4 separate regions of the Homo sapiens genome follow, and all the other regions are linked to region 3. Evidence: promoter capture Hi-C in 16 types of primary human blood cells and fetal thymus (Javierre and others, 2016). All regions are on one chromosome and are shown on one strand. Each heading gives the region's core, a stretch centred on a gene start or on the middle of the fragment in contact. The rest is flanking DNA. Distances are from core to core; before and after follow the strand shown. Region 1 overlaps USP45 (ubiquitin specific peptidase 45). Region 2 has its middle 120 kb from the start of PRDM13. Region 3 holds the start of PRDM13 (PR/SET domain 13). Region 4 overlaps USP45 (ubiquitin specific peptidase 45).

Region 1 (6,713 bases), core at 3,839-6,338, 120 kb after region 3:
ACCATCTTGGCCAGGCTGGTCTTGAACTCCTGACCTCAAGTGATCCACCTGCTTCAGCCTCCCAAAGTGCTAGGATTACAGGCCTGAGGCACCGTGGCCAGCCTAATATAATTTTCAAATCTGCATTAATTATACAAATCTGTAAGCACAAAACATGCACTTATGTGTCATATACTTAGGTATTTTACTTTTTGTATTACAGTGTGGTTCTGTTTATTTTTAAAAAACTTTTAATATGAACATTTTCAAATTCACAGAAATGTTGCAAGAATAATACAAAAATTGCCACTATAGGATGGTGATTTTCCTAATTCTGTCATTTCTTCTATTAGCTGGCATTCTCTTATAAGGAAGTCTCTTCCCTACTTTTTCTCATTTAAAAAATCTGTTACCAATTCAGATTCATTCTGTGAATAATAATCTATTATACTACCCTTACTTATTTTTATGATCAAATTATCTGAATTGAACGAGCTGGTCAAAATCCCTGTGTATTTTGACTTATTCCCAATCACACATTTTGAGCACTTCCTTACTCTCTGGCATGGCAAAATGTTATGGGTTCATTTTGCATCTTTGCTACCCTGGGTTAAGAATCAGCCTTTTCCCCTAGACGTCCTTATTTCTTTTCATGGGTAATGGTATTTAGAAGTTAGACCTTTTCTACTTGTTCTCGACTGTTCTTTTACATTTAGTTTTTTAATTCATCTGCAATTTATTCTGTAATATAGTGTGAGGTGCAGATCTGTATACTAAAGTTTAAATTAATTCCTCTAGCAATAAAATATAAAACCAAAGATAGTTGTGTTTATATTCTTCCCCTTCAGGAACACTGATTCAGGGAGATAATCTTATTTAAATTTAATTTTAAATAATGTATATAAATTATGTTAAGTGACATATTTATCTTTACATCTTGTGTCAGTTATTTTTTCTCTAACTTGTAGGTGCATTTTCTAGAATCATGAAACTTTGTGAAGAAAAATGTGAAACAGATGAAATACAGAAGGGAGGAAAATGCAGAAATTTATCTGTAAGAGGAATTACAAATTTAGGAAATACTTGCTTTTTTAATGCAGTCATGCAGGTAAGAGTCATCAGAAAGCTTTGTAATATGTAAAAGATTCTCTTAATTTATGTAGTCATTGGCTCACCTGTAGACTGTCAAATGACTGCTAAATGTTCCTCTAGAAATTTCTCTGTTTTCCTTTTGTTTACGCTATCTTGGGCCATCACCATATGTATACATGTACCTTATTTTCACACAGGGCTTCTGAAAGGTCTTCTGTGTATTTTACCATGGCTCTATCGGTAATAGTGACCTTTACTAAATGTAAAATGTACTCAACTAAATCTTAATATTTTTTGAAATAGACACTTTTGCTATGCTAGATGAAATTTGAGAGTGTATTCCATAAAATCAGAGGCATATTTTAACTGAATCTGAAGACTTTAATTTTGTTTTCTTTTAGAACTTGGCACAGACTTATACTCTTACTGATCTGATGAATGAGATCAAAGAAAGTAGTACAAAACTCAAGATTTTTCCTTCCTCAGACTCTCAGCTGGTGAGTAATAACTGTTTGAATAATAGCTGCTTTCAGATGAGCCACTGATGTTACCAAAATCTCTTTTCCTAATTCGCAGATCAGTCAACTAAGATAGTAGCCAGGGGGCTTAAAAATAATTTAAAAGCATTCTGTGAAAATAATCAGATTTAAAATTTCTAAAATCATAACTTTAAGGTATGTTATGGTTCCAATATGCCATGGATCAAATAATAAAAAGATATCAAGGCAGCTTTAAAATAAACATACTGGAAGAAACAAAAGAGGTGTGACTTCTATTGAGCAAAATGCCTATAACCCCTATTTTGTAGTTTCTGGTGACATTTGTTTAAATTTAGCATTTTTGTTCTTTAAAGAAAGATGAAATTTTAATAGTGAGCATCTAAAGGTTTTTTTTTTGAGACGGGGTCTCGCTCTGTCGCTGGAGTGCAGGCTGGAGTGCAGTGGCGCGATCTCAGCTCACTGCAAGCTCCGCCTCCCGGGTTTATGCCATTCTCCTACCTCAGCCTCCTGAGTAGCTGGGACTATAGGCGCCCGGCTAACTTTTTTTTTTTTTTTTTTTTTTTGTATTTTTAGTAGAGACGGGGTTTCACCATGTTAGCCAGGATGGTCTTGATCTCCTGACCTCGTGATCCACCCGCCTCGGCCTCCCAAAGTGCTGGGATTACAGGCGTGAGCCACCACGCCCGGCCACATCTAAAGGTTTTTTGAAGCCTAGCCTGATGATAGATTTTTAAGCTAGTGAGAAAGATGAAAAAAAGAGCAGCCCCTGATATTCAGAAGCTGGCCTGGCACCAACAGTTAGGCCATGTTATTCAGATAATCCCACAGAATAACAATCTGATAGTAGGTTTCTCTGAGACTACGATGAAATAAGACAAAGCAAGTCCACTTCATGATTTTGTCTAAAACAAGATCACTTTGCCATTTAGAAAATCTGAAACACCCTCCTTCAGCCAAAATGAGAAATGAAGGAATGCTACTTTACTAGTTAGAGATTTATCCTCATTTTAGTCTCCCCCACCAACTGCCACAATATGTAAGATTTATTGAGATGTCCCATGATAGAATTAGCCTCGCTTTCTGAGGGCATTCACTCTAGAGTAAACCTCTGCTTCCTGAAACCCACCTTCAGGTTATTCAACCAGAGCCTAAATCCTGGGTAGGTTCTTTACAGCACTCTCTTACTAGGACACCCTGTGGTTCCCCATGCTGCGTGATCTCCCTCACTGCCACAAGTAATAAACCCACCTAGTTCAACGATAGGTGTGTTTCTGATGGACTTTGGCTGGGAGGTGTTGATACTAGTAAGGATAATTTTAGTGAGAAATTGATCAGCCTGTGTGTGTGTGTTTGTGTGTGTGTGTAAGTGTGTAAGTCAGAGTATATGTATAGCTCATGATCTGACTTTTGAAAACAATTAAAGAGTTCTAAAAATGCTTAGCCCTCTAAACATGCTTAGTAATCTTAGATTGTTTTTCCCAGTAGGCACTTTTGAAAGACAGTATTGTTTTATATATATATCTTTGAAAGACAGTATTATTATATATATAACATACTGTTATATATATATAATAACCTCCTTTTTATATATATATTTACATGTAAATGTTTACCATATATATATGTATATATAGTCGAAAAGCAGCCTGTAAACATTTGTTCAGCCCCTTAAAAATTTAATGATAGATTCCAATGCCCTATTCTAAATAAAGTGTAGTGAGATCCTTAAAACTACTAAAGGGAAGTTATTGCCTAGTCATTTAAAAAGACCTGTTAAATGTGATTTCCTGTTAAATGCGATTGGATGTTGAGTTTAAATATTTGACATGCAGAGCTGTGTTTCAGGATTACTATATGGCAATTAGATACTGTAGTTAATAACTTTAGGTTTGTATCATTCTAACAGGGTAATTTTGAATCTTATATCTTAGGTTTTTAGGGCATAAAGTTGACCTGAGCTGTGGCACTGTTCTTTGAGTTGGTTACTGCCCTTTGAATCACCAGTTTATCTTTGTCTTTTGTCTATATACCGTTTATTTTTTTATTTTTATTTTTTTACCTTATTGTGCTGGCTCAGAGCTCCAGTAACATGTTGAATAGAGATGATGGGAGCAGTCAGCCTTGCCTTAATCCCAAAATTAGGGGAACAAACATTCAGCCTTCTCCCATTATTACATACGAAGGTACGATTTTCAGAGGTGTTCTTTGTAAGCTTGAGGACATTCCTTTCTATTGCTAGTTTTCTGAAAGTTTTATCGGAATGGATGTTGAATTTTGTCAAATGCTTTTCCCACATCTATTGAGATGATCATATGGTTTTTCTTCTTTATTCTGTTAATGTGGTGAATTACACTGATTCCTTTTTCAAGTGTTAAACCTATCCTGTATTCTTGTTACAAACCCCAGTTATGATATGCTTATATGCTGCTGGATTCAATTTAATATTTATGCGCATATCAACAGTGTGTGTGGAAAACTTTTTATTTAATGAAAATATTCTTTAAAATGTATATTATGAGTGTATAACTTGATGAATTTTCACAGCTAACACACTTGTGTAACTAACACCTTGCTCAAGTAACATTACCAGCATCTGGAAGGCCCCTTCAACTCCCCCCCACATTCACTACTTCCCTAACCCACATGAGTAACCACTAACCTGGTTTCTAACAGGATAGATTAGTTTTGCCTGTTTTAATACTGCATATAAATGGAATCTTACTATATACATTATTTTGCATTTGGCTTCTTTCTGTCAACATTATGTGTGAAATTCATCCTTCTTGCGTTTTCAGCAAACTTTTGTTTTCAAAGTTTAAGTGTATTTTTTATTTTTATTTTATTTATTTTTTGAGATGGAGTCTTGCTCTGTCACCCAGTCTGGAATGCAGTGGCACGATCTCGGCTCACTGCAACCTCTGCCTCGTAGGTTCAAGCAGTTCTCTTGCCTCAGCTTCCTGAATAGCTGGGACTGTAGATGCGTGCCACCACACCCAGCTAATTTTTTTTTTTTTTTTTTTTGTATTTTTAGTGGAGACAGGGTTTTGCCATGTTAGCCAGGCTGGTCTCAAACTCCTGACCTCAAGTGATCCACCTGCCTCGGCCTCCCAAAATGCTAGGATTACAGGCGTGAGCCACTGCGCCAGGTCTAAATGTACTTTTTAAAACTAAGGTTATTTCCTCATCTCATTCTGAAGGTTTTTTATTCTGTCTAAAAAATATTTTCATTGAGAAAAGGGAAGTGCAACTTGGTACTTGAAGTTTAAAATTACCTTAGATTTTACTTTTGACCCTTGAGGTAACTTTCAGTTAACATGGCAGAAAACACTTTAAAAAAAAATAGACTTTATTTTTTAGAGCAGTTTTAAGTTTACAGCAGAAGAGAAAACACTTTTTTTTTTTTTTTTGGAGACAGTCTCATTCTGTCACTCACACTGGGGTGCAGTGGTGCCATCATGGCTCATTGCAGCCTGGGCTTAAGGGATCCTCCCACTTCAGCCTCCTGAGTAGCTCGGACTGCAGGCACGTGCCACTACACTTGGCTAATTTTTAAATTTTTTTTGCAGAGACGGAGTCTCCCTATGTTGCCCAAGCGGGCCTTCCACTCTGGGCTCAAGTGATCCTTCCACCTTGGCCTCCCAAAGTGTGGAGGTTACAGATGTGAGTCATGGCATCCAGCCCAGAAAAGCACTTTTGACATTCAAAAGCTATGGAAGGCCGAGCACCATGGCTCATTCCTGTAATCCCCTAGCACTTTGGGAGGCCGGAGTGGGAGGATCACTTGAAGCCAGGAGTTTAAGACCAGCCTGGGCAACAAAGTGAGACCCCCCCTCTACCCCCGTCTCTACAAAAATTTTAAAAATCAACTGGATATGCTGGCATTCATCTGTAGTCCCAGCTGCTCAGGAGGTGGAAGCAGGAGGATCACTTGGGTCCAAGAGTTTGAAGTTACAGTGAGCTGACCGCACCACTGCACTCCAGCCTGGGTGACAGAGTGAGACTTCGTCTAAAAAAAAAAAAAGAAAAAACACAAAAGTCTGTCTTGAGTCCTCTGTAATTTTGACTGGGTGTGGTGGCTCATGCCTGCGATCCCAGCTACTTGGGAGGCTGAGGCGGGAGGATTGCTTGAGCCTTAGGAGTTCAAGACCAGCCTGGGCAACCCTGTCTCTTTAAAAAAAAAAAAAAAAAAAAACTATGGAAAATTATAGCCTGTCCTTTCTGTGATTATAGTGGATTTTTAAGGATAGTTGTTATAAAATACATATGTAACAGTTATTTCATGAATATAGGAATAGGACAATATATTCAATAGTTATCTTGGAAGATAACATTCTTTTTTTTTTTTTTTTTTTGAGACGGAGTCTCGCTCTGTCGCCCAGGCCGGACTGCGGACTGCAGTGGCGCAATCTCGGCTCACTGCAAGCTCCACTTCCCGGGTTCACGCCATTCTCCTGCCTCAGCCTCCCGAGTAGCTGGGACTACAGGCGCCCGCCACCGCGCCTGGCTAATTTTTTGTATTTTTAGTAGAGACAGGGTTTCACCTTGTTAGCCAGGATGGTCTCGATCTCCTGACCTCATGATCCACCCGCCTCGGCCTCCCAAAGTGCTGGGATTACAGGCGTGAGCCACCGCGCCCGGCCGGAAGATAACATTCTTTAATGTCCCAAGTTTATATTTGGGATCTGCTTTCTATTCCTTGTCCTTTAGGAGAAAGTGTTATTGGTGGGGATAGTACTTTAGAAACCAGATTTCGAGGGGAAAAAAATTCTAGAATTAAATGGGTTAATCCTTCACCCAATGTTAGCTGCTTTTGTCAAGCTTTATGTCTCTCCCCTTTAAAAGAGGGAGATGTTATGCTGATTTTGTTACATGATTCCACATTATTACTTTACTAGTAAAATATTTGGGGAAAAGAAAGGTGTATAATCCTACATTATACACAAATAATCATACATTATTTACTAGCAAATAATGTATGATTATTCGTGGAGTGGTACAAACATTAAGTAGATTAGTGATTTTATTTATAGGAGAGTGCATTAAAGGACAGTGACAAGCAACTAAAGATTGGTGATATCATTTGATCTAATAGTTTTATTAAGCAAAGGGCAGAGGATATGAAAATACCTGTGTTTTTCAAGG
Region 2 (7,096 bases), core at 1,609-4,108, 120 kb before region 3:
TGCAGAAAGGAAAAGACTGACTACAACTGGCCCTGCTTCACCAGTCTCCTCCTTACTGCTGTGGAAGATGTAAGCTGATTGAAAACGAGGAAGGTAAAAAGGGAATTGGAAAATGGGAAAAATCTCCACGCCTGTACCCAGATTTTCATCTTACAGCAGCCTGTACAGCAAGTCTACCTTACACATAAGTAAAATATGTACCAACTACAACTGTGCTTCCCAGTCAACAGTTTTCAAATCCCTAAAAGCTTAAAGGCAATAGTAGCATCAATTCTGTTTCTATTTTTCAAGAATAACAATGCATGAAATATCTACATCATTTTCCCAGTGAAACTGAATGGTGTGAGAGCGTGGGGGTTTATGTCAAATGAGCAAGATCAATAGCGAATACTGTTGCTGAAGTCCTAGTTACCTCATCATTTATCATTTAGCTAAAACCAATAGCTACCTTGAGGATTTGACTATTATGCAACTTTGGGTGTTTTCATTCTTATTCAGGTATTATTTAATTTATAACTAAATACTAGTCATTAAAAAAAAGAATTAGGAACAAGATGGTGGAATGGAAGACTCCACCAATTGTGTCCCCCACTGCAAGGACACCAATCTAACAGCTATCTACACAACAAAACACTTTCATAAGAAACAAAAATCAGGTGAGCACTCACAGTACCTAGTTTTAACTTTGTGAAAGAGACACTGAAGAGATAGAAAAAAACAGGCTTGAATCACCAATGCCATCCCTCCCTGAGCAGTGGCGTGGGGTGGAGAGCAGTTCTGTTTGCTGGGGGAGGGAGAGCTGGCAGTTGTGAGACACTGAACTCAGTGTTGTCCTGTTATAGCAGAAAGGAACACCAGACCAAACTCAACTGATGCCCCCCCAAGGAGAGACTATTTAAACCAGCTCTACCCAGGGTGCATTCATTGATCCCAGTGGTTGGAACTTGAATTCCCACAAGCATCACCACCTGCAAGCCTTGCCACCACAGGCTAAAGTGCCCTGGGGCTCTAAATAAATTTGAAAGGCAATCTAGGCCACAAGGACTACAACACCTAGGTGAATCCTAGGGCTTAACCAGGCCCAGAGACAGTGGACTGGTGGGGCACATGACCTACTGAGACACCAGCTGGGGCAGCTAAGGGAGTGCTGGCACCACCCCTCCGCTAACCCTAGGCTGCAAATCTCCTAACTCCAAAAGATACCTCTTCCTTCACACCTGAGGAAAGGAGAGGCAAGAATGGGCCACATCTTGGATACCAGCTCAGCCACAGGAGAATAGGGCATGGGGCAGAGTCACGAGGCCTCATTTCCAGGCCCTACCTCCCAGACATTTCTAGACACACCTTGGGCTAGAAGGGAATCTGCTCCTTGAAGGGAAGGACCCAGTGCTGGCAACATTTATCACCTGCTAACCAAAGAGCCCTCAGACCCTAAATAAACAGCAGCAATACCCAGGTACTACATTGAGGGGCTGAGGTGAGCCTCTGAGACTTGCTGGCTTCAGGTGAGACACAGCATATTATGAGCTGAGTGTCCACGGGCCAAAACTCCTTTTGCTTCAGAAAAGCAGAGGGAAAAGTAAGGGGGACTTTGTCTTGGATCTTAGGTATCAGCCCAGCCATGGGAGTTAGAGCACCAAGCAGTCTCTTGGCATCCCAGATTCTAGGATTTCGCTCTTGAACAGCATTTCTGGACCTGCCATGGGCCAGAGGGGAGCCCCCTGCCCCAAAATGTGAGTACCAGGCCAGGGAGTATTCACCACAAGCTGACCTAACAGCCCTCGGTCCTTAAGGGAACATTGGCAGCAGTCTGCTGGTACTCCCTGTGGCCTTTGGTGGTGGTGCCCATACAGTGAGGCTCCTCTGCCTTTGGAAAGGGGAGGAAAGGGTGGGAAGGATTACATCTTCTGGTTTGAGTACCAGCTCAATTGTAGTACAATAGAACACTAGGTAGGCTTCTAAGGTTTTTGACTGTAGTCCCTGGCTCCAGGATGACACTTCTAGACTTGCCTGGGGTCTTGGGGAACTCACTACCCTGGAGGAAAGGACACAGGCCTGGCTGGCTTTACTACCTGATGATTTTAGAGCCCCACAGCTTGAGTGAACATAGGCAGTAGCAAAGGAGTAGTTACAGCAGGCCTTGGGCAAGACCCAGTGCTGCAGTGGCTTCAGGTCAGACCCAGTGCAGTCATAGGTGGTGGCCACAGATATGCTTGTGTCACTACACCCCCAGGTTCAAGTGGCTCAGAACAGAGACAGATTCTGTTTGTATGAGAGATAGTAACGGAAAATAAAAAGTTTCTGCCTGGTAATCCAGAGAATTTTGTCAGATCTTGCCCAAGACCATCAAGGCAGTACCTCTACGAGTCTGCAAGAACCACAGTGTTACTGGGTTCTGGGTGCTCCCTAATGCAGATACAGCTTACACAACAGCCAAGTTATTCTGAATATCTGGAAAGCTTTCCCAAGAAGGATGAGTACAAAGAAGCCCAGACTATGAAGACTACAATAAATATCTAACTCCTCAATGCCCAGACACTGAATAACATCTACAAGTATTAAAACAATCCAGAAAAGTATGACCTCACTAGATGAACTAAATAAGTTACCAGGGACCAATCCTGGAGAGACAGAGATATGTAGCCTTTCAGAAAGAGAACTCAAAATAGCTGTTTTGAGGAAACACAGAAATTTAAGAGGACACAGAGAAGGAATTCAGAAGTCTATCAGATAAATTTAACTAAAAGATTAAAATAATCAAAAAGAATTAGCCAGAAATTCTGAGCTGAAAAACGCAATTGGCATATTGAATAATGCATCAGAGTCTTTTAATAGCAGAACTGATCAAGCAGAAGAAAGAATTAGTGAACTTGAAGATAGGTTGAAAATACACAGCCAGAGGAGATAAAATAAAAAAGAATAAAAAACAATGAATCATGTCTACAGGACTCAGAAAATAGTCTGAAAATGGCAAATCTAAGAGTTACTAGCATTAAAGAGGAGGTAGAGAAAGAGATAGGGGTAGAAAGTTTATTTAAAGGGATAGTAAGAGAGAATTTCCCCAACCTAGAGAAAGATATCAATATCTAAATACAAGAAAGTTATAGAACACCAAGCAGATTTAATCCAAAGAAAACTACATTAAGGCATTTAATAACCAAACTCCAAAAGATCAAGGATAAAGGATCCTAAAAGCAGCAAGAGAAAAGAGACAAATAACATATAATGGACCTCCAATACATATAGCAGCAAGCTTTTCAGAAACCTAACAGGCCAGGAGAGAGTGGAATGAAACATTTAAAATATTGAAGGAACAAAACCTTAATCCTATGTATTAGTCCATTTTCATGCTGCTGTTAAGAAATACCCAAGACTGGGTAATTTATAAAAGAAAGAAGTTTAATTGCCTCACAGTTGCACATGGCAGGGGAGGCGTCAGGAAACTTACAATCATGGCAGGAGGTGAAGGGGAAGCAAGCACTTTCTTCACAAGGCAGCAGGAGAGAGAAAAGCAAAGTAGGAACTTCCAAACACTTATCAAGCTATCATATCACATGGGAACTTATTCACTATCATAAGAAAAACATGGAGGCTACCACTCCCATGATTCAGTTACCTTCCACCAGTTCCCTCCCTCAATACCTGCGGATTACACTTTGAGATGAGATTTGGGTGGGAACACAGAGCCAAACCATATAATTCCATCCCTGGTCCCTCACAAATTTTGTGTCCTCATATCTCAAAACACAGTCATGCCTTCCTAACAGTCCCCCAAAATGTAAACTCATTCCAGCATTAACCCAGAAGTCCAAGTCCAAAGTCTCATCTGAGACAAGGCAATTCCCTTCCACCTAGGAGTCTGTAAAATCAAAAGCAAGTTAGTTATCTCCAAGACACAATGGAGGTACAGGCATTGGATAAGTGCTCCCATTCCAAATGGGAGAAATTGTCCAAAACAATTTCTTGCAAAGGGGCACAGGCCCCCATGCAAGTCCAAAATCCAGGGGGCAGTCATTAAATCTTAAAGCTCCAAAATGATATTCTTTGAATCCATGTCTCATATCCAGGGCATGCTGATGCAAGGGGTGGGCTCCCACAGCCTTGGGCAGCTCCTTCATGGGCTGATGTTGAGTGCTTGCAGTTTTTCCAGATGTACAGTGCAAATTGTTGGTGGGTCTACCATTTTAGCATCTGGAGGGTGGTGGCCTCACAGCTTCACTAGGCAGTGCCCCAGTGGAGACTCTGTGTGGGGGCTTCAACCCCAGACTTCCCTTCTGCACTGCCCTAGAAGAGGTTCTCCATGAGGGCTCTGCCCCTGCAACAGACTTCTGCCTAGACATCCAGGCATTTCCATACATCCTCTGAAATCTAAGTGGAGATTCCCAGACCTCAATACTTGACTTCTGTGCACCTGCAGGCCCAACACCATGTGGAAGCCACCAAGGCTTTGGGCTTGCATCCTCTAAAGCAATGGCCCAAGCTGTACCTTGGCCCCTTTTAGCCATGGCTGGAGCTGGAGTGGCTGGGACACAGGGAACCAAATCCCAAGGATACACACAGGAGCAGGGTCCTGGGCTCAGCCCACAAAACCATTTTTTCCTCCTAGGCCTCTGGGCCTCTGATGGGAGGGGCTGCTGCCAAGATCTCTGACATGCCCTGGAAACATTTTCCCTATGTCTTGGGGATTAACATTCATCTCCTCATTACTCATGCAAATTTCTGCAGCCAGCTTGAACTTCTACCCAGAAAATGTGTTTTCCTTTTCTATTGCATTGTCAGGCTGCAAATTTTCCAAATCTTATGCTCTGCATCCCTTTTAAACATATGTTCCTCATCTCCATCTGAGACCACCTCATCCTGGACTTCATTGTCCATATCACTATCAGCATTTTGGTCAAAACCATTCAACAAGTCTCTAGGAAGTTCGAAACTTTCCCACATCTTTCTGTCTTCTTCTGAGCCATGCAAACTGTTCCAACCTCTACCTGTTACTCATTTCCAAAGTCACTTCCACATTTTCAGGTATCTTTATAGTAGTACCCCAAACTCTTGGTACCAATTAATTGTATTAGTCTGTTCGCATGCTGCTATAAAGAAATATCTGAGAAATATCTGATTTTTAAAGGAAAGAGGTTTAATTGACTCACAGTTCCACATGGTGGGGGAAACCTCAGGAAACTTATAGTCATGGCAGGAGGCAAAGGGGAAGCAAGCATTTTATTCACAAGGCAGCAGGGGAAAGAAGAGTAAAGGAAGAACTTCCAAACACTTATAAAACCATCAGATCTCATGAGAACTCATTCACTATCATGAGAACAGCATGGGAGAAACCACCCCCATGAACAAATCACCTTCTACCAGGTCCCTCCCTCAACACATGGGGATTACAATTTGAGATGAGATGTGGGTGGGGACACAGGGCCAAACCATAACACCCTAGAACAACATACTTAGCAAAAATATTCTTCAAACATGAAGGAGAAATAAAAACTTTTCCAGACAAACAAAAGCTGAGAGATTTCATCAACACCAGACCAGTCCTGCAAGAAATGCTAAAGAAAGTACTTTAATCAGAAAGAAAATGATGTTAATGAGCAATAAGTAGTCACCTGAAGGTACAAAACTCACTGGTAATACTAAGTACACAGAAAAACACAGAACATTATAACACTGTACCTATAGTGTGTAAACTACTCTTATCCTAGGTTGAAAGGCTAAACAATTAACCAAAAATAACAACTACAACAACTTTTCAAGACCTAGATAGTACAAAAAGAATGGAGATCCCAGAAATAACACCACACACCTACAAGCATCTGATCTTCGACAAAGCTGACAAAAACAAGCAATGTGAAAAGGACTCACTGTTTAATAAATGGTGCTGGGATAATTGGCTAGCCATATGCAGAAAATTGAAACCAGAACCCTTCCTTACACTATATACAAAAATCAACTCAAGATAGATTAAACACTTAAATGTAAAACCCAAATGATAAAAGCCCTGGAAGACAACCTAGGAAATACCATTCTGGACATAAGAATTGGCAAACACTTCACGATAAAGACACCAAATGCAATTGCAACAAAAACAAAAATTGACAAACGGAATCTAATTAAACTAAACAGTTTCTGCACAGCAAAAGAAACTATCAACAGAGTAAACAGACAACTTACAGAATGGGAAAAGATTTGCAAACTATGCATCTGACAAAAATCTAATGTCCATCATCTTTAAGGAACTTCAACAAGTTTACAAGAAAAAAACAAACAACCTCTTTAAAAAGTGGGCAAAGAACATGAACAGATACTTTTCAAAAGAAGACATACATGTGGCTAACGAGCATGTGCAAAAGGGCTCAATATCACTGATCATTAGAGAAATGCAAATTAAAACTACAATGTGATACCTTCTCACACCACTCAGAATGGCTACTATTAAAAAGTTGAAAAATAACAGGTGCTGGCAAGGTGGTAGAGAAAAGGAAACACTTGTTGGTGGGAGTGTAAATTAGTTCAACCATTGTGGAAAGCTGTGAGGCAATTCCTCAAAGAGCTAAAAACAGAACTATCATTCGACTGAGCAATCAATTACTGGGTATATACCTGAAGGAATATAAATCATTCTACCATAAAAACATACACACATGAGTGTTCACTGCAGCACTATTCACAATAGCAAAGACTTGGAACCAACCTAAATGCTCATCATGACAGATTGGATAAAGAAAATGTTGTACATATACACTACAGAATACTATGTAGCTATAAAAAAGAATGAGGTCATGTTTTTTGCAGGAACCTGGATGGGGCTGGAGGCCATTGTCCTTAGCAAACTAACACAGGAACAGAAAACCAAATACTGCATGTTCTCACTTATAAGTGGGAGCTGAATACTGAGTACACTTAGACACAAAGGAACAAAGACACTAGGGCCTACTTGTGGGTGGAGGGTGGGAGGAGGGAGAGGATCAGAAAAAAATAACTATTGGGTACTAGGCTTAGTACCTAGGTGAGAAAATCATCTGTACATTAAACCCCCATGACACAAGTTTATATAATAAACATGCACATGTATCCCTGAATCTAAAATAAAAGT
Region 3 (6,716 bases), core at 4,217-6,716:
GGGTGATGATAATCTAAGAAGGATGATGTTGCATTGTCTTGTCTTGTCTGCCACTTGGTAATTAATTAACTCCTAGATAGCTGCACAAATCCAAGCTTAGTAAAGTCTTTGGAGAAAATATATTAGTTTTTTATTATATGAATATATATAAATGATATAGATCGATAAATAAATATAGATACTCAGCTTTTAATAAGTGCAGAATTCTCTACCGGGCACTATATACGTGTTTGGTGTGAAATCTTTTTATGTGTTTAGTATTATTAGCATTAGTTTATTCATTTTGCCCGAGTTTGTGAACACAATCAAGAGACACATATATGAGACATTCTGATCACATACTAGAAGTTAATTTCCACTTAAAAGGGTCATATTACTGCTGTAGAGAGAAATGATCTTGCAGTTGGGTTTCTTTTAAAATGTGGTTGATTGATAATACTGAAGGGAAAGATGTCTGAGAAAGAAGTTAGTTGAACCGCAAGGAAATATCCAAAATATACATCAGTCTCATAAAATTTAACAGGAAAGTTAAATTCTCCCTCTGCATATATGAGCAGCTCAAACTTCTGAAATATTACTACAGAAATAACAATAGGGAAGAATTCCAGATCTTCTTCCCTTTATGTATATTAACTTCTGGGTTTGCATAACACAAGTAGCTCCCACCCCTACCCCATAAGACCTGTGAAAACTCAAGTGATAAGCACTGCATTCCAACTGAGTCCAAGGAGAGCAGAAAGAAAAATGGGAGAAGAGTATTTGCCTATGACACCCTACCCTAATCGTTTATAGAAGTCTTAGATAAAACCATTTCAATATTCTGTTACCTTGTACTGAACATTCATGTAAAATGAATCGTGAAAAAAAGAGAGAATAGACCTCCTGGGTTCTCTTGGTGGGTATGTTGTCTTAAATAACTTCCTTCTAACTTCAGAGCCTTTCTCTCTCTCATCACCCCTTTTGAAAGAGGGAGTTTTCAGAGTCTGCCGCAGAATGACTCAGCTCAATGCAAAGCCACATAAGCTTTTTTCTTAAAATGAGGGGGCAGTATTTTCCTCCATCTTACTATGAAATTGAAACCCACTGAAGTTAGCTAGTATTAGGAGGATAGCAGCCATCCCTATTTATTTCTTCCTCTTTCCAAGCTTTAAGCAGCATACGTTTAATATATACTTTTTTTCAGTTATCCTAACTGACATATTCTCCAGACTCTGAGATCCAAATCATGCCAAGAGTATCAAATACATTTAACAAGTGACTGCCTCCTCTTCATGTAACTCTAAGGTGGTCAAGAGTTCAAACTTCTCCAAGCTGGGGAAGTCAGGGTTCAAAATCACCCATGCCTTCTCACCTCCAGAAAAAAAAAATGTTTATTTTGACATCTGTTACCATATGATGTTTATAAGCTCAATTGGCTGAAAGGAAAACACAAGGACCGCTATTCCAGTTGCTTTTGTACTATTTGGGACTACCTAAGAAAGGGTGTTCTCTGTAGAAATGGCTGGCTTCTAAAGGTTAGTGGCCCGCCAAATTCTATAGTGGCAGATTTGAGAGTTCTCCACTATGTGGCTTTTATTATACTTCTCTTTTTACTGGAAGAAGTTGACAAGAGAATGTAATATAATGTGATGCAAGGAACAAACTATTTTAGGATAATTTGAATACTATACCTACAAAATAAACAGAATTAACTTACAGAGGACGATGATACTTTAAAGTGATTCATTGTTTTGAATAAACTTCATTCTGTGTTATTCATGAAGTGTTTCCTAATTCACATACTTGTATTGATTTCTCTAAACCTATTTCTAAAGGGATGAGATTGAGCAGGCAATTCAGGAAGACAGCATGTTAGAATATTTCACAGCATTCATTATTTTGATGTTAAATGTGTCTTTAGGAGAAATTACAGACAATTGTCAAAGAAAAAAAGCCATGGAAGCTTTGTGTGTGAAAAGGAAGTCTCCAAAACCTCAACTATTCTAGCACCTCCTAGACTTCTTTCCACAGGAAGTGTTCTTCAGTGTTCAAGGGTAGGTTTAAAAATGTTTTTCTGTTTAGTTACTGCACCTTAATTTGCATAAATCCGCTCTTGGCTTTGAAGGGATCAAATAAATCTGAGAAGAAACTGGGATACATCCCAGATTCAACTTAAGTAGGCAAGGGGAAATGAATAAATGCCACTTAAATGGAAGGGTCTCAGTACCTGCCAACTGACCAGCTGTAAGTACCGTAATACTTCTAAAATGCTGTAGAAATGCACTGCTCTCCTGGAAAGCCAGTGGAGAAGAAATGTCCATGGACTTTGTAAAAGCATTCCAGGTTTGAGTTATACTCTGTGGAACTCATGATGTAATTACTGTAACAACAACTTAAGGCTCCTTTTTTATTTTTTATTTTTATTTATTTATTTTGAGACAGGGTCTCACTTGTCACCCAGGCTGGCATGCAGTGGTAACATTACGGCTCACTGGAACCTTGACCTCCTGGGCTCAAGTGATCCTCTTGCCTCAGCATCCTGAGTAGCTAAGACTACAGGCATGTACCGCCGCACCTGGCTAATTATTTTTTTGTTGTAGAGACAGAGGTCTCACTATGTTGCCCAGGCTGGTCTCGAACTCCTAGCCTCAAGTGATCCTCCTACCTCGGCCTCCCAAAGTGCTGGGATTACAGGTGTGAGCTACCGCGCCTAATTTTTTTTATTTTAATTGAGTAAATAATGGTCTGTTTGAATATGCAACAGAAAAAGGATGGCCCCATTAAGTTCATAGAGCCTACTTTTTCCCCTGCCATTGTGAGCCAGATTGCTACTATCACTGTTATCGTTTATGGTTGATTTTAAGGAGGTAGTGGCGACCTCTCTCCTCTTTGCCTTGAAATACAGGGAATGTGAATTCCATTTTACATAGATCGAGCTATGTCTAGGGACTCGCTTCAAGACAGGAGGAGGAGGGCTGGACTTTTGCCCATCCACGCTTTTGGAATGGGTACCTTTCTCGTCGTGAGTCGGAGTCGCTGTGGTGGGGATGTCGAACCACTGAGCCAAGGAGTTAGAATACCACACTGTCAGCTCCTCCCCTGGCTGGACGTCTCGCAATGCTCGGTAGAAGATCTGGGACGCAAGGAATAGAACAGTTCAATGTCATTTCCTGGGTAATCGGTCAAAAAGCAACTGAGAAGAAAGGTTCAAATCCGGATTCTGATGCTGTGTGACCCTGGAGAAGCTACTGGAGCTCTCTGAACCTCACTTCCGTCATCCTTCAAACGGAAAAACAATAGTAACTACCTTAAAGGGTTGTCGAGACGTTTAAATGAGACGTCTAGCTAAAGTACTTTGCTCTTAATATTTTTGGCCACCGCAGGGACGGTTAGGTAGACTGAATTGGCGGTGGGGAGTGGGGGGGTGTGGAGAGAAGCCCGCAGTACCTGTCCTCCGGGTAAGTCTGCAATAGCTTCCAGAGTCTGTTCCTGGGAGTTTCTGGCTGCCCGGATTAACCCTATCCACTCCAGAGGGGAGCCCCCCGACTCGTCCACCAGCTCCCCTCTCACCATGCGCACCTGCAACACAAGCAGTGGTCGTTCTCCCCCGCACCTTGGCCAGGCCCACAACCCAAACAGAAAGTTTATCCTCCACCCCAACCCAACACAGGAAAGTGGTTGTTTTTGGTTTGGCCAGACCACTATGGGCTACTGGGAGGAGGAGAATTCCTTAGGACCTTGCTTCGGGGAGGGAGAAAGAGGAAAGTCTACCTATGCTAACAGTACTCCCACTTCCCTGCGCCCCACCTTGACGACACGGGGAGGGGAGAGGGGTGTTGAGAGCATCCTCCCTGAGTGCTTAGGCACATCTTGTACCAAGTTGTCCCCTACCCCAGCTCTCCCATTTGCAGTTCTGAGAGCAGCCGTAACACCACGGTAGAGACATTTCTAGGTCAGTCCCAGGGCCCAGAGCGTACCCCCGACAAACAAACAAAAAAATTATCTCATGCCTCCTGTATTCTGTGTGCATCGCACCTAGTTGCCTGTGAGCCCTGCAGCTAAAGTCTCGGAACAAAGCCCAAGCGGGGAAAAGCTTGCCCGCAGCTGGCAGGCCATTTAAAAGCAATTAAAACGCGTTTAAAGAGGAATGCGCGGTGGGCACCAAACCCCGCTTTAGACTGTAGTGGGGGGCGTGATTGCAGGAGGAGCGAGGTGCAAGTCCCGCTGGCTGGACACCGGAGCTTTTTACTAGAAAGCTCCAAGCAAGGCAAGCTAAAGCCAAGGAAGCCAAAGTCCTTTCTTCTACCCCAGACTTCTGCCTTCATTTCCCGGTCGCTGTTTGCCGACCTTTGGCTCCTGGGACGCCCCCAAAGCGGGCGAGTGCTATAAGTCTCTCTGGTCAGGGGTCGCGACGGTGTGTGGAGTGTGGGAGTCAAAGCTAGTGGTTTGGCCCTGGCGCCTCCCGGTTGGGCCTCTGGACTCTCAGAGCCCCGCTGCAGACGCTCTGACCCTGTGCCCCGCGCGAATGGGCGCGCCTCGCCCTTGGAGCCCGCGTCAGAGCCAGTACCTTGCTCATCCTCTCTCCATATGCCGCATACCCACAAGCCGACATCGGCAAGGGAAAAAAAAATATCTGAGGAGGTTCTAGGAACTGAGAGCCTCCCAAAGATTTTTTTTTTCAGGAAAAAAAATTACTTTAAGGCGAAATTAGGCCTCAAATTAACATATTGAAGGGCAGAAGGGAAGAAAGGGTCTCGATGCCCTGAGCCCCCAGAAAGAGGGTGCTTTTGCAGAGAGAGCTGCGGACAGCGTGCGGGGGTGGGCTTCTGGCTTCTGACTGAGGAGACCCGAGAGCGCAGGGGAAAACACAAGCTGCGAATGGTCCCGGCACCTACAGCGCTCAGTGCACCCCACCCAGGGCTGTCGCCTCTCGGCCACATCCTCTCCTCTCAGCCCGACCCCGTCCAGCTCTCACAGTTAAAGAGGCTACTTGCTCAGAATAATAGGAGTCCCCTTCCACCCGGCAGAATTAGCAGGTAACGACTCAATCACTCCCTTCCTCCACTTTCTCTCGTACCCCTTTCCCGGGTCAGGGCACTGAGAGGCGAATGGCAGTGGGCAGAGGTCTGAATGGTCAATACCTTTTTCTTAGGCCCGGGCTCCCTGCGGTCTGACAGGTACTTGCCCAGCTTGAAGGTACCAGGCACCGGTCCGAGGCGCAAGCCGGCCGGGATGCAGCAGTCGGCACTCACGCTGGTGGCTGGCGCTCTGGCGGCTCCGTGCATTGTTGCCGCCGCCACCAGGCAGGCGCTCGGGTGCTCCAGGTCCTTGGAAGGGCGCGAGTGACAGAGCTGGAGCTGCGCGCTAGCCAGAGAGCCGCGCCCCGACGTGCGTCCTCCGCCCGCGGAGTGACGCGGGCGGGCATGCACTGCGCCTTTTCAATCGGGGCGGGAGCCTTTTGGCACCGCTAGCGCAAGGGCGCGGAGTTTGGTGAGAGAGTTGCGCTGCGAAGCAGCTGCAGAGTCCCACCCGAGAGGGTCACATGGAGTGGTTCCCTCAGCCCCCTGCATAATCGAGGCCGCTGAATGGCTAGCACACAATGGTCCAGGCGACCTTCCCATTCCTAAAAATCCAATTTGTCAAGGGCGAAGAAAAGGCACTGGTGAATCAAAGGTCCGGCGGGACCATTAATCCTCAGCATGGGGTATTGTCCTCCAGACAGTTACGATATTTTAAGTGACAAATCCACTGTATAATTTCTCCATAAATTTTACTTCCTTTTATTGTTCCCCGACAAACCAGTTTTGGGAAATAAGTGACTACTTTAAGTCTACTTGGCTGATTCCTTTGAGCCTTGATCTACTTCAAAGATTTTTAATTCTCTCCCCTTGGCTTTATTGTAAAGGAGATTAAACAAAGAGATGGAGACTGTTTGGAGGACTTGTTAACTACTATTGATTTCTGGCGTGTGCCATACAGAAATTAGGCAGGTACTTGATGGGAAAACACCAGAAAATACCTACACTTTTTAAATAACAACCATATTACCATTTCAGGGGATTGGGTTCAGGCCAGTCGTCTATTCAGAACCGCTTTAATTCTCACTTCTGTCCCATTTCGTCCGAAAATATGATGAAGCCTCCAGACCAAGTTGAGAAGGGGAGGTCAACTGCTCATCACTTTTCTCGGGCACACCCCGGGCCTGCACTTTCTCTGGAGAATGGGAAACAGCCCCAGAACCAACAGTTTCGAATGGGGATCCTGCGCCCCGGTCCGCAGCCCAGGGTTGAAGAGGAAGAAGTTCTACCAGTGGGTTATTGATCACGTCCCCTAGAAGATGTCCTTGGACTAACTTCCCTAAAACCAGCAACCTGGACTTTTCTATTAAAAAAAAAACAGTAAACAAAAACGAAAATCACCGCAATCTGTTAAAGGTTGTAGAGAAGAGGGGCGAGGTGGGCGTTTGGGACAACTCTTTCTTACACCTACTTTGTGAACTAACAAGACGTTGTACTTCAGAGTTAAACCGGAGAGCTACCCGTTTTCTTTTAGGGAAGCCTCCAATTGGCGTGAGAACATTTATTTTCATAAATAGTAGCCAAGTAATCAAGTTCATCAGATATTTGTGATTTCTGCCGGCACCTGCCGCGTGCTGCTAGTTCTGAGCACAGCTCCCCAAATCCTATGCAGCCAGCACCGGAGCCCGATGCAGTTCTTCCAAGAGAGGCCTGAGTGGT
Region 4 (6,499 bases), core at 307-2,806, 93 kb after region 3:
GTCTAATGACTTTTCTGGAAGCGTCGTGTATTAGGAGCTCCGGGGCCGGACTGCTTGGGTCCGCATCTCCATCCACCGCTTACTGGCTTTGGGACCTCTGCAAGTCACTTCACTTCTCTTTCTCAGTTTCAAGTGTAAAATGCGGAAAATAATAGCAACTTATCTCCTAAGGTGGTTGTGAGGGTTGCGTGGGTTAATATTTGTGAAGTGCTTAGAACTGAGCGTGATACACAGCAAAACCATAAGTGCTGCTCATCTTTTTGAGCTTGGTATATAAAAGGAGATAGTGACCTTTTCTTCTCTTTCCAACCCCCATAAATAATTGCCCAAGAGTAGGAAAAAAGGATTTTTTTTTCTTAAGGATATGGGCTTTTTGCATAGCCTGTTTAAAAACAAAGCTTTCTAAACAACTTAGTTGCACATCCTACTTTAGAGAAAAGACAAGTGTTAAGTGATGGTGACTTGAAAACTGTAAAGTTTATTGTTTGGAAAACCGCATGAGAAAAATGGCCAGAACATATTTGTGCTAAAAAGAGTTAACATAGCAGGCCTTAAGACTGCTATCCTTAGAAAGGACTGCTTGCAATGTTGGTGCTTGTTTGGCATCTGGGAACTTAGATTTTTGGGTTTGTGCTGAACAGTATGTTTTATGCCGAAATTACCAGCTTCTGTAAAAATCCGGGACACCAAGTCTTTAATGGGCTTCCCTGCGCGGAAACTGCTGCATTTTCACTGATGGAGGAAGGATGTGTTTTGTTTGACCCCTCTTGGGAGGGAGACCGCATAAGGAGCCTACACGTGATTCCTCCAGACTCCGCTTGTGTCTTTTTCTATTATGATGAGCCTTTATATCCATACTGCATTGTGTAATAAATGTCAGCCATGAATTCAACTATATGTTGAGTCCCGTGCATCCTATCAAAGCTCTAAATGTGGGGGAGATCACGGAGATCCTCAGCCACAGTTTTGTAAATTTGTATAAAGGTAAGGGATATAAGTGCCGTTTTTTTACGAGGATATATTTCCTAGTGGTACTGGGCTTTTAGTGTAACCATCACCTGAATAATGTACATTGTGTCCATTAAGCAATTTCTCATTCCTCACCCCACTCCCATCCTTCCCAGTCTCCAGTGCCCAGACACAATTTTGATGATAAAAAGTATTGGAAGCTCTAATAATTGGACTTTTAATTTTGCCCTTTTGCCTCAAATGGAAATTGGAAAACTACAGATAAATAATTGCCGAATTCTGGGTTACTGTACCAAATGATTCTGTCTGTTTAGACATTACATATGGCAGAAAAATCATCAGAAATTGCCTCTACATTACCAAGTTAATTTTGAGTCAGTGTTTTTGAAAAAAGGCACAGGTTGCTTACAGTATGTAGGTCAAATGCCTGGTTTTGTTTATTATTTTGCTAGCATTATCTGTGTTAATGCTCATCTTTATCAAGAGCTTATCTGTACCACAGCGAGAAAATATAATCAGTTTCTCATAGGCCATTTTCCCTGTACTTTATTAGTTATACCTATCTCTTTTCAGGACATCAAATTTAAATTGATGGAGGTAGGTTTGCAAATTTGGGGTTAGAAAGATCAAATTTGCCGTCTGCTTATGTCTCTTTTCCCTTATAAAAGACTAGATCAGTTTTTGGTAAGTTAGTTGGGAGTTGGAGGGGTTAGAGGTTTGAGGAAAGTGAAGAAGATTTGAAATGGCTCTGTGGATAGTATGTAAGTTGACCAGAAGGTGAAGTGAATAATAATGGACCTAGTCTGCTTTCTTAAGAGACTTTCTCCCGACATGGAGAAAATGGTTAATTGGGTTCATCTAGGATTGGGTTCTGCGAGAGAGGTGATGTAGTCCTTAAGGCTCTGCACAAGTATTCCGGTTCACCTATTTTTGGGTACATGTAATGCTGCACTCTTTGTACATGGGCAACCCCTCTCCATGTCTGCTTGAAGTTAAATGTGCCATGTGACTTGCTTTAGGAAGCAGCTCTCCATTTGCCATTTCCACTTCTCCCTGCCCTGCTGTAAGGGTCATGGAAGGACTTGTTGAGATGCAGCCTCTTGTCAGCCTGGACACTATAGGAAAATATGAGTGGCTGATCAGGCAAGTTGGAAGAACTGGGAAGTTGCTGTCAGAGAAGGGGATACTTAAATTAGTGATTTTATAAGGTGGAACTGTAGGGGAGAGTAGATGAGGAAGTTTGGAGGGAGAAGGTAGAGATGAAGTGCTCAAGGAACTCAGAGGCTTTTTACATGTTCCTAACCCGGAAGCCCTTAATTTATTGCAACTTAGTTCAGTAGTGATGACCGTTGGACTTAATGGTAAACTTGAAAGCTCCCTTATTGTGAATTATGGAATGAATAAATCAAGATTTGGAATTTAGTACTGAATTGAAAGATTCATTACCTTGATCATTGAGAAGTAAGTCAGCAACCATGAAAATTGCGATGTTGCTTAGCCACCAGGCAGGAGAGTAAAAGGTAGGCCAAGCTACTCTAACAGAGACTCCAAAATATAGTAGTTTTAAAAAATGCTTAGCTTGTATCTAAAATCTTTGATAATTAACTGAATTTTTAATAAATATAAGGGATAGAGGTAAATAACACTATGAAGAAAGAGACAAATTCAGTGTGAGACATTATATAACTTTGCTGTCGAAAGAGTATTCTATGGGCCCCCAGCAGTGGCTTCAGTTAGAAGCTTTTTAGGTAGGTAGAATCTCAGGTCTTGTGCCAGACTTGTTGCATCAGAACTTTCATTTTAACAAGACCCTCAAGGTGACTCATGCACTGGCCTGATCTCTTTAAAAAGCTAAAGTCTTAGGCAAGTAACAGGTTGGAAGAACTGTTCTGTTAATAGATTAAAAGATACTAAAGAGACATAACCAATATCAAGTGCAAACCTTGATTGAATCTTTTTCAAAAAACCAGCTATAGAAGACAATTTAGGGTCAACTAAGGAAATTAGAATATGATGGAATATGAGATGATATTAGAAAATTATTAATTTTCTTAGATATGATTACATTGTTATATAGGAGAATGTGCTTATTTTTAAGAGATACATGCTGAAGTATTTAGGGATGAACTGTCAAGATCTCTACAACTTTCAAATAGTTCAACTATGTGTATATATATATATATATATATATATATATATATATATATATACACACACTCACATACATATATGTGTCTCTCTATACACACATATTGATATTTAGATAAAAACAAACATAGCTAATTGTTAATAGGTGTGGAATTGGTGGGGCACCATGGCTCATACCTGTAATCCCAGCAGTTTGGGAAGCCAAGGCATGTGGATTGCTTGAGCCCAGGAGTTCGAGACCAGCCTGGGCAACATGGGGAAATCCCATCTCTACTAAGAAATACAAAAAAATTATCTGGGCATTGTGGTGTGCACCTGTAGTCCTAGCTACTTGGGAGGCTGAGGTGGGCGTATCACCTGAGCCTGGGGAGGTTGAGGCTGCAGTGAGCTGAAATCAGGCCACTGCACTCCAGCCTGGGCCATCAGAGTGAGACTTTGTCTCAAAAAATAATAATAGCCGGGCACGGTGGCTCACGCCTGTAATCCCAGCACTTTGGGAGACTGAGGTGGGCGGATCACGAGGTCAGGAGATCGAGACCATTCTGACTAACACAGTGAAACCCTATCTCTACTAAAAATGCAAAAAAAATTAGCCAAGCCTGGTGGCACACGCCTGTAATCCCAGCTACTTGGGAGGCTGAGGCAGGAGAATTGCTTGAACCCAGGACGTGGAGGTTGCAGTGAGCCGAGATCCATCTCAAAATAATAATAATAATAATAATAGTAATAATAATATAAATGTGGAATCTAATTAGTATATGAGTGTTCATTATACTGTTCTTTTAACTTTTGTAGATGTTTAAAATTTTTCATGATAAAAAGCTAGAGTGAAAAACCCCCAAAAATGTAGTAGCTTAAAAAGATAGAAATTTAATTTTCTCTTAATATTCCAGTGCTAGTTGTACAACACAGGTATAGAGTGGCTTTACTATGCTTGGCTTACAGCTATCCATTTTTGATCCAGTATGGCTCATCCAGCTCCTACTATTTCCTTGCTAGCAGAAGGGAGGAAAGGGTAAAGAGAACTCATTATCCAGAAGCAATACTTACTCCGTTGATGAAAACTTTAGTTTTGGTCATTCACCTGGACATCATATATTTAGGGGTTGTGTCTTGGTTCAGCCTGGTATAGCAAATTATTATAGACTGGGTGGTTTAAACAACACAGACTTATTTCTCACAATACTGGGAGCTGGGAAGTACAGGGTCAAGATGCTGGCAAATCTAGTATCTGGTGAGGGCCTTCTTCCTGGTTTATAGATGGCCATCTTCTCGTATATCCTCATGTGGATACAAAGGTAGCTTTCTAGCCTCTTATTATAAGAGGCCAGTCTCATTCATGAGGGCTCCACCTACATGACCTAATTACCTCTCAAAGGCTTCACCTCCAAGTATCATCACTTTGGGGATTAGAGTTCAACATATCAATTTGGAGTGGGGACACAAACATTTAGTCCATAATGGTATAGTTGGCAAAAGCCAATGGAATATACCATGTGTATACTGATTTAACAAAGATTTATTTCATTTCAAGTGATGTTCCCCTCTTCTTCCTCTGTTGATTTCCCGGACCAGTTGAAATTGAAGTCATTTCAGTTTTAATACACATTAAATAAAATATAAAATTTTAATTTTGAAGACTAAAATGTATGAATTTTTTTCCCTCAATCCCTTCAGTAAATAACAGATGCGGGTGAAAGATCCAACTAAAGCTTTACCTGAGAAAGCCAAAAGAAGTAAAAGGCCTACTGTACCTCATGATGAAGACTCTTCAGATGATATTGCTGGTAAATTGTGATATATGGCATCCCAAATAGTGTTGAGAAGAAATAACAATGCAGTTGACCCTTCAACAACATGGGTTTGAACGCTGAGGATCAACTTGTACACAAATTTTTTTCCACCAAACCTAGATGGAAAATACACTATTCTTGGGATGCGTGAAAACTGCATACTTGGCAGGCTGACTTCTAAATGCAGATTCCACGGGGCCCACTGCGGGACTTGAGTATGCACAGATTTGGGTATATGTGGGGAGGTCCTAGAACCAACTACCCCACCCCACCTCCCTGCCTCAAGTATCTGAGGGAAGACTGTATATGTTTTTAATTAAGAAATCTGTTACTCTTTATTTTTACTGTTTTCTGCATAAATATTAGAATCACCTTTTCTAGTTCCAAAAAATCCTGTTGGCATTTTTATTAGGATTTTGTTTAGTTTATAACATGAAGTAACTTAGATTGGCTTTTTTTTTTTTTTTGGTCTCTTTCTCATGGCCTATTAAAACCATGTCACCAAGCCACCAGAGCTTGGCAGATGGCTTTTGGGAGCTGCTGGCCTCAGGGCTTGGTTTTCTCTTTAGCCTCATGCTTTTGATTTGGGCCTCTGAGGATTTTCCTCACTTTCTTGCTAGTTCTCTCCATTTAAAGGGATATTTTTAATATATTTTTTCCATTTTAGGTATGCATAGTTGCATACAGCTATACACAAACACACTCACATATGAGTGCCTATGTCTTCTGAAATCCGAATAAGTTCTAAGGATTGTACCAACGTCAGCTTCCTGGTTTTGATATTTTACTATAGCAGTGCAAAACATTAACATCAGGGGAGGCTCAGTGAAGGGTGAATGAGACCTCCTTGTATATTTCTTTATACCTTCCTGTGAATCTAAAATTAGTTCAAAAATTTAAACTCTAATAAATTAGGGACATCAGATAAGGTCCTAATGATATTTAAAGAGATAATTCAGACATCCTTCAGTGCAGCAAACTGGCTATCGAAACATCATCCCATTTTAGTACATGTATAGCTTTGTATAACCACCACCAATCAAGATACTTGACTGTGTCATCACCACTCTATGTGCTGTCCATTTATAGCAACACCCTCTGCCTTGCGTCCATTGCTCCCTACAACCATGAATCTCTTCTCATTCTATAATTATGTTATTTCATGAACATTATATAAATGGAATTATATAGCATATATCTTTTGAGTTATTTTGTGTGTTCAATCTCTGTGCTTTTTAGTTAACAGCATTTAATACTTTTGAGGTTTGCTCAGTAATGGTAGCACTTTGGTGTAGCAAAGAAAATGTTGAGATTTTGTTTTATCTTATTCAGTAGGTTTAACTTGCCAACATGTAAGTCATGCTATCAGCGTGAATCATGTAAAGAGAGCAATAGCTGAGAATCTGTGGTCAGTTTGCTCAGAATGTTTAAAAGAAAGAAGATTCTATGATGGGCAGCTAGTACTTACTTCTGATATTTGGTTGTGCCTCAAGTGTGGCTTCCAGGTAAGAAAAGTATTATTTATATGTGAGTTTGTCTGAAATGTTTTCCTTAAATGCTTATTGTGAGTTGGACTGTTGGTCATGCAT

The links. Contacts are between HindIII fragments. The CHiCAGO score rates a contact against its expected background, and 5 or more counts as called.
Region 1: a contact is called between a fragment that was not itself captured here and the fragment with the promoter of PRDM13 in region 3, in 1 of 17 cell types (total B cells). The highest score is 5.6, in total B cells.
Region 2: a contact is called between a fragment that was not itself captured here and the fragment with the promoter of PRDM13 in region 3, in 1 of 17 cell types (erythroblasts). The highest score is 5.1, in erythroblasts.
Region 4: a contact is called between a fragment that was not itself captured here and the fragment with the promoter of PRDM13 in region 3, in 4 of 17 cell types (monocytes, activated CD4 T cells, total B cells and 1 more). The highest score is 8.0, in monocytes.

The regions. Positions count from the first base shown.
Region 1 is chr6:99,483,055-99,489,767 of GRCh38, reverse strand. USP45 (ubiquitin specific peptidase 45) reads left to right here. Exons shown (of 18, transcript NM_001346022.3): 6 at 948-1,087; 7 at 1,473-1,568. Among named protein-coding and RNA genes, the nearest start is that of USP45, 29 kb to the left of the region's middle. RefSeq lists a silencer at 4,444-4,583. The HindIII fragment of the contact is 2,606 bases long and covers 3,786-6,391 here.
Region 2 is chr6:99,719,740-99,726,835 of GRCh38, reverse strand. No RefSeq gene overlaps it. Among named protein-coding and RNA genes, the nearest start is that of PRDM13, 120 kb to the right of the region's middle. The HindIII fragment of the contact is 794 bases long and covers 2,462-3,255 here.
Region 3 is chr6:99,605,583-99,612,298 of GRCh38, reverse strand. PRDM13 (PR/SET domain 13) reads right to left here and starts at 5,466. Exons shown (of 4, transcript NM_021620.4): 1 at 5,121-5,466; 2 at 3,427-3,558; 3 at 2,992-3,112. The coding sequence starts at 5,264. The HindIII fragment of the contact is 6,161 bases long and covers 4,075-6,716 here.
Region 4 is chr6:99,508,526-99,515,024 of GRCh38, reverse strand. USP45 (ubiquitin specific peptidase 45) reads left to right here. Exons shown (of 18, transcript NM_001346022.3): 2 at 4,795-4,904; 3 at 6,243-6,415. The coding sequence starts at 4,805. Among named protein-coding and RNA genes, the nearest start is that of USP45, 3.6 kb to the left of the region's middle. RefSeq lists an enhancer at 1-594. The HindIII fragment of the contact is 2,311 bases long and covers 401-2,711 here.